Linked DNA regions of Homo sapiens: region 2 is linked to region 1. Evidence: promoter capture Hi-C in 16 types of primary human blood cells and fetal thymus (Javierre and others, 2016). All regions are on one chromosome and are shown on one strand. The core of a region is centred on a gene start or on the middle of the fragment in contact, and the rest is flanking DNA. Distances in the headings are between cores, read along the strand shown. Region 1 holds the start of RHBDL3 (rhomboid like 3). Region 2 has its middle 39 kb from the start of PSMD11.

What was found. Contacts are between HindIII fragments. The CHiCAGO score rates a contact against its expected background, and 5 or more counts as called.
Region 2: a fragment that was not itself captured here is called in contact with the fragment with the promoter of RHBDL3 in region 1 in 1 of 17 cell types (erythroblasts); the score reaches 5.2 in erythroblasts.

The regions. Positions count from the first base shown.
Region 1 is chr17:32,264,260-32,267,794 of GRCh38, forward strand. It overlaps RHBDL3 (rhomboid like 3), which reads left to right and starts at 1,573. Exons shown (of 9, transcript NM_138328.3): 1 at 1,573-2,041. The coding sequence starts at 1,931. LOC105371731 (a long non-coding RNA gene) reads right to left here and starts at 1,192. Exons shown (of 3, transcript XR_934665.2): 1 at 1,006-1,192; 2 at 487-637. The HindIII fragment of the contact is 5,065 bases long and covers 1-3,282 here.
Region 2 is chr17:32,403,282-32,406,816 of GRCh38, forward strand. No RefSeq gene overlaps it. Among named protein-coding and RNA genes, the nearest start is that of PSMD11, 39 kb to the right of the region's middle. The HindIII fragment of the contact is 1,780 bases long and covers 691-2,470 here.

The DNA.
Region 1 (3,535 bases), core at 323-2,822:
TCCCTGGGCTGATGAAGAGGCAGCTCCCTGGGTAGCTGGTATCAGAACACTGTCCAGGGTGGCTGGGCATCCCAGCAGAGTGGCCAACCCTTTTCTGTGCCCTTCTCCTTCCAGTTCCCCTGGAACCAGACTTCCTGGCCCACTTCTCTAGTCCCAGAGATCTAAGTATAACAGAGCCAACACCCATACCGGTCATGCAAATGACAGCCTGGGATGCGGGAGGCAGCGACACAGACCCCAGGGCCCCAGCGGTCATTTGTCCTTCTGGGCTCCTCTTCACAAAGGAATCAGCCTCTCTTCTGTCCCCTGAAGGCTGTTTTCAAAATCACACCCCATGCAGACAGTTTTATTTACAAGGAAATCTTGGCAGGATCTTGACTTGTTAGTAGAGTAGGGATGGGGAGGAGGGTGGTGAGAAACAAAAATAGTTGAAATGATCACACTTTCTGAAACAGAGATGAAAATTGGTGTCTGTAGCAAACTCACCTAATTAGAATCAAGTGAATTCCCTTCTCGGTGTTTAAGGGGAGCAGTCATTGCTGGGTGATGGTCGCAGTTCGGATCCTGGGCACGGGGTTATGTCTTTGCTTTCTGAAGATGACTGCATTAGTTGCAGCTCTCACTAATGGAAAGGAGCCTGTTCCGTTTCCCAGAGGAAGGAAGAGGGCAAAGACTAGTGAGTGAGTGGGTGGTGGGAAGAGGAAAGCAAGAGGAGTGGAAGGGCACAGCCTTGGTGTGGGCTGGGGACTGACTGCGAGATGCCTCCTGGAGAAGCTCCTGAGCCTCTGGGGAGAGCTGGCCCCTGCCAGGCCGGCCACTAGCACCATTTACAGCCAGAGCCTCTGCTTCGGGAGATGGTCTCTCTTGGGGGCGCTTTCCTGCAGGGAAACAGCATCGATTGTTTTCTTTAAAAGATCCCCTACTCCGTTTTGGCTAACTTCCTTTCTGATTGCTTTAGTTTCTTTACCGTCCCTCTCCCCAGATGGGGCATTTCCCTGGGCTTACCTTTGTCCATGTGGTCAAATGAAGCCTGGGCATGGTCACTTAGCTCTGGGTGTAGGAAGGGCAAGATTTAGGCTTTGGGGCCCACGACCCCGCAATCTGACTTCTCCCATTTCTGGGCCTCCCGAGACCTCCCAGAATCTGAGACCGCAGTGAATAGGGCGTAAGGATAATGGGGCGGGAGGCAGGAATCCCGTCCTTACAACATCGCGCCCCCAATTCACTCCTAGTTAACCCTGACGTCGCCAACATAGTGTCTCCATCACATATCTGCCACCTCCAAGTGATGGTTAAGCCGATGGAAGAGCCAAGCCCGGGCCCGGAGTGCAGGCCGGTGGTGACCGGGCCGGGGACGGCGCAGTCCCCATCCCCGCCCCGGGCAGCGCCACCACTTCCTCGCCAGCCCCGCCGCAGCCCTCCCGCTCCCGGGCCGCGCCGCTCTGACCGACTGGGCCCGGGTGGCGGCGCCCGGGGTGGGGTGCGGGGCGGGGGCCGGCGTTCCCCGCGAGCAGCCCCGCCCCCGCCCGCGCGCCGCCCCCGAGGACTCCGCGGGGAGGAGGAGACTCGGGCGCAGAGCGGGGGCCGCGAGAAGCGGGAAGGGAGCGCGGGGAGCGGCGGGGCCGGGGCCGGCCCAAGGGCGCCCTCGCCTCGGAGCCGGGCGCGAGGGCCGGGGCGGAGGCGGAGGCCGGCGGGGCAGCTAGCGCAGTGAAGTTTGGCGGCGGAGGGGCCGGGCGTCCCGGGGTCGCGAGGAGGCGGCGGCGGCGCGGGGACCGGGGCCATGGGGGCGGGCGCGGGCTGCGGAGCGGGCGCGGAGGCGGCGCGGCGCGCACTGAGCCCCTGGAGCGGCGCGGCCGCCGCGGCGCAAAGTTAGCCCGGCGCCCCGGGACGAGCCCCGCAGCCGCCGCCGCCCCCGGACCCCGTCTCGGCCATGGGCGAGCACCCCAGCCCGGGCCCCGCGGTGGCCGCCTGCGCCGAGGCGGAGCGCATCGAGGAGCTGGAACCCGAGGCCGAGGAGCGGCTGCCCGCGGCGCCGGAGGACGTGAGTGCCCCCTCCCCGCCCGGCAAACTTTCTAGGGGGCGCCGGGGGGAAAAGCCGCCCCTGTCTCGCCCCACGCCGGGCAACTTGGAGGTTTCAGGGTGACGCGGGAGCGCCCCGGATTGGCCGGGTCCCCGCGGGCAGGAGGGGGCGGAGGGACCGGTCTCCCCGAAACGCGCGCGCACCGCTTCCCCCGCTCTGGTTCCCGCGGCTTCCCTGCGGGACACAGCACCGCCACTGCGCCGCGGACCTGTCACCGCCGGAGCCCCCTCCCCGCCGCTGGTGCAGTGCCCGGGACACGGCGTTTTCCCGCAGAGGCGGCCGCGTCACGGCGGTGACTCCCCCTCCCCTCACGCCCGCGACCTGCGAGCTCCCGGAGCTGGGGAAGGAGCGGACGCCGCAGAGTCCCCGTCCCTGGCCATGCAAGCCGGCCTGGCGACCCCTTCCTCCGCTCCCGGATTAGCTCCCGCCCGGCACCTGCCTTGCCGCGACACTGATTGAAATTCAAGCCGGCCCCCGCCTCTGACCCCGGCCGGAGCAGGGAGGCAAAGAGTGCTGGGAGCGGCTTTGCTCCTAGAAGGAGGCCCGGGAGTCCAAGACCGTGGCGGTGCCAGGGGACGGTCCCCTGGGCGAGGAGAGGGAGGGGCTGCCCCGAGGGCTTCCCCGCCGTCTGCTGCTCGGGTCTCCATCCCTCCGGTCCTGCGGGCCGGCCCTGCGAAGCCCTGGGAACTGGAGTTTCTTGGGTTAACCTCCCGGGGCTAACCTACACATAGGGGTGAAAAACCGGGCAGACACCCTGCCCTGCCCACTCCTCCCTCAGGGTGGGGAGATGGAAGTGAAACCAGGCCCCCAACCCACACAACGAAAGCGGGAAAGTCTGAATGGGGTTGGGGGGTAGTTTACGATCTTCTCTCTTTGGCGTCTGCGGTTAAATCTATCACTTCCTTCTGGCCCTAAACCCCTGGCAGAATCTGATGTAGTCACCACTTAGACTCAGCCTTGGAAGAGAATGGGTGGGCTTCACCGCATTCGGCATTCACCACCCCCCCTTCCCCGCAAAAAAACAAAAAACGAACAAACAAACAAAAAACTGCAGGCAAAATGTTAGTGTTTATGCAGAGGTGAGTTCTCCTGGGGGGGGAGGGGGGGGCTCTAGCTCCCAGCAGGTGAGACTCATTGCGCCGGGGTCTGATGGAATTGCACCTGGCCATGCTCTCCCAGGCCTGGGAGTAGCTGTGGACATAAGCTTTAGGCAGCAGAAATTATTAGAGGCGCTTGGACATATTTGGACGCCTTTATTTAGTAATTGTTGAGAATCACTTGTTCTGCCAGTTCCAGAACCAGCAACACCCACCTTGCCGCCCCCGCCCCCACCCCATCCCTTACTGTGAGTTTCCTCCCTCTGCTCAGTGTGGACTCATTGGGGAGCTCCTCCCAGACTTCCCCTGCTCTCCTGTGGCCAGTCCCTGAGCCTGGTCATGACTCCTGGGCAGCCGC
Region 2 (3,535 bases), core at 331-2,830, 140 kb after region 1:
GGCACAAGATAAAGTGCTGTGTAATTACTCTGAAATGTTTGTAATTAATAAAGAAATGAATTGTAGGCACTTTGTCAGTAGAAACCACTGTGATTTGGAAACGCAATGTTTCAATAATAAAGACTATAAAATTTAAAAAAGAAAAAAATTAATTCTCTCCAAATTATAAATTAAATGGTATACCTAATGACTTTCCTTAGAACTTGAAAAGCTTAACCCAAAATTTATATGAAAAGGCAAGAGCCTGGAATGGTTAAGACAACGTTAAAGAAGAAGAAGAATGTGAGACTTACCCTTATAGAGACCGCAATTAACCATAAAGCCATAGATGTTCTCAAGCCTAGTATAGCGCCTGACACACAGTAGTTAATGAATGTTTGCTCAGTAGACTGATGGGTGGAACAATGAGTTGCTTGGGGGTCAGGATTAACTCTGGAAGTGGTAGTTGTGGGAAGGGTTGAACCTGAAGATTAGGGCGACTCAGAACTGCAAAGACCAGGGAAGTTGGGTTCTGAGAAGGGGCAGGACAGAGAGCTGACTAATTTGTTTCATTTGTCTACACATACCCTTAAGCAAATTTTATCTTGTACAGTTTGAGTATGGGGTTTATGTTTTCTTAAAATTCAGCAAGCCTTTAACAGGAATGTACTCAGTATTAAGTGTGGTGTCAGATTGGCTGCAGTGTAGGAAAGCTTTTATTCCATGGGAAAGAAGTCCATGATTTTTGGAGCTATCTATTATGCAGTTATGTTGCTATAGATTTAGTTATTTGGATCTCATGATTGAAATAGTATTTTAAATTGGGGACATCTTTTGTTTGGGAGAGGTTGTTTAGAAATGACAGGTGAAGAATAAAATTATTAGAGTAAAATTTGGCCATATGTGACATGGGCATTAATGATCCAATGATTTATATATGCCAGTAATAGAATTTACAAAGGACAGCCAATGGTGAGATGCTGTTCTCTGGTGGCATTCTGGTAATAACCAGCTCTCGTATGGTGCTTGATAGTTTCCAAAGTACTTTTGCATACCTTATGTTATTTGTGCCTCCAAGGTATGTAAAGGAGGTTTATTTCAATTCAGTGATCGTTTATTGAGCATGTTTTGTGCCAAGTTTTGTACTAGATCTTGGGAAACCAGCAATGAGGCAAAGAACTTGACTCCAAGTTAACATAGACAGGTAACACTGGGATACACGCACAACCAGGAGTTTAAGTTTGGAAACAATAATTAAGGAGGGAGACATATGATTAGGATGTGGTAATGGTAGGTTGTGATGGCTTTCCTAGGCTTTGTTATATTTTTTGTTTCAAGGAAGAATTGTGTGTTTTACACCACTTTGAAACTATCTTTCACAATTTACATAGCTGATAATATACTTTTTTTTTTTTAAAGCAGTCTAGCTCTGTTGCCCAGGCCGCAGTGCAGTGGCACCATCTCAGCTCACTGCAATCTCTGCCTGCCGGGCTCAAGCGATTCTCCTGCCTCAGCCTCCCAAGTAGCTGGGACTATAGGCGCGTGCTACCATGCCTGGCTAATTTTTGTATTTCTAGTAGAGACGAGTTTCACCATGTTGGCCAGGCTGATCTCAAACTCCCTACCTCAAGTGATCTGCTGCTTTGGCCTCCCAAAGTGCTGGGATTACAGGCATGAGCCACTGCGCCCAAACATCTGATGATATACTTTGTTGTTGTTGTTGTTGAGACAACGTCTTGCTCTGTCGCCCAGGTTGGAGTGGTGTGATTTCAGCTCACTGCAACCTCCACTTTCCGGGTTCAAATGATTTTCCTGCCTTAGCCTTCTGAGTAGCTGGGACTACAGACACGTACCACCACACCTGGCTAAATTTTTGTAGTTTTAGTAGAGATGGGGTCTCACCATGTTGGCCAGGCTGGTCTCGAACTCCTGACCTCAGGTGATCCATCCTCCTCGGCCTCCCAATGTGCTGGGATTACAGGCATGAGCCACCACGCCCTGATGATATACTTTTGAAAATTATATTACATTTTCTACAGTTACACTGTCTTTCCTCTGAAAAATCTGGGTGATCTGTTAGAACATTTGATCTAAGCTACACTCCTTGATAATGTATTTGTCGAAGGAATGATTAATTTATGTGCATAATTTAGTCCTTTGCATACAAAATGCAATTTTGTTTATTAGAAATATTTTAGATAATGCTTTGTAGGATTTTTGTGTTATTTTTAGGTCTGAAAAAGATGAAGAATAAAACATGGCAAGTCTAGAGGGAGGCACTGCTTGAAGTGCGTGAAACAAATCAAGCATCAACAAAAATAGAAGCCCTTGAGATGAAGAACAGAAAATCTGTGATTATTATCATTATTAGCTTTACAGGGATGTTGAAGTGATCAGGATATCAATGACATAATTAAGTGGTATTATATTTTTAAAATTTGAGAAATAAGGAAACCATTGCTTTAGGATATGTCTCTTATGTACTCAGAAAAGCTTGCTTTTGTAAGTTAAGCCTCAATGATGAATAAATAGTGCATTTGTGGCTGGGCGTGGTAGCTCATGCCTGCAATCCCAGCACTTTGGGAGGTTGAGGCAGACAGATCACCTGAGGTCAGGAGTTTGAGACAAGGCTGGCCAACATGGTGAAACCCTGTTTCTACTAGAAATACAAAAAATAAGCCAGACATGGTGGTGCACACCTGTAGTCCCAGCTACTCGGGAAGCTGAGGCAGGAGAATCACTTGAACCCAGGAGGCAGAGGTTGCAGTGAGTCGAGATTGCACCACTGCACTCCAGCCTGGGCGACAGAGTGAGACTCCATCTAAAAAAAAAAAAATAGTGCATTTGTATTAATTACATGGATACAATTCTGTATACCAAAGAAAAATATCCACATTTACTGCAGATTCTTTTGTAGGCTGTGTAGAATTTCTTACTTTAGGCCGGGTGTGGTAGCTCACACCTGTAATCCCAGCACTTTGGGAGGCCAAGGCAGGCGGATCAGAAGGTCAGGAGATTGAGACCACCTTGGCCAACATGGTGAAACCCTGTCTCTACTAAAATACAAAAAATTAGCCGGGCATGGTGGCGTGTGCCTGTAATACCAGCTACTTGGGAGGCTGAGGCAGGGAACTCACTTGAACCCGGGAGGCGGAACTTGCAGTGAGCTGAGATCGCGCCACTGCACTCCAGCCTGGCGACAGAGCAAGATTCCGTCTCAAAAAAAAAAAAAAAAAAAAGAATTTCTTACTCATATGAACTTGACCCTGTAAACACTATAAGAAAAACTTCTTTGCTACAGGTTGATTTTCTTTTGGAATGGGATCCCTTTATTCTGATAATTGATTCTAACAGAAGACTTCTACTCAATGTGATAATGGAATGATTTGGAGCAACTCTACTATCAAATCAGGGAAAGCTAGCCTCCAGGGTGATCCAGAGGTTCTGCTGTCACCTTACAAACCCAAGACAAGATTTTTCACCAGGACTGGGCTTTGGATAACATATACGTTCCATAACAATACCTCGAAGGAGGCATGTGTTTACATGGCCTAGT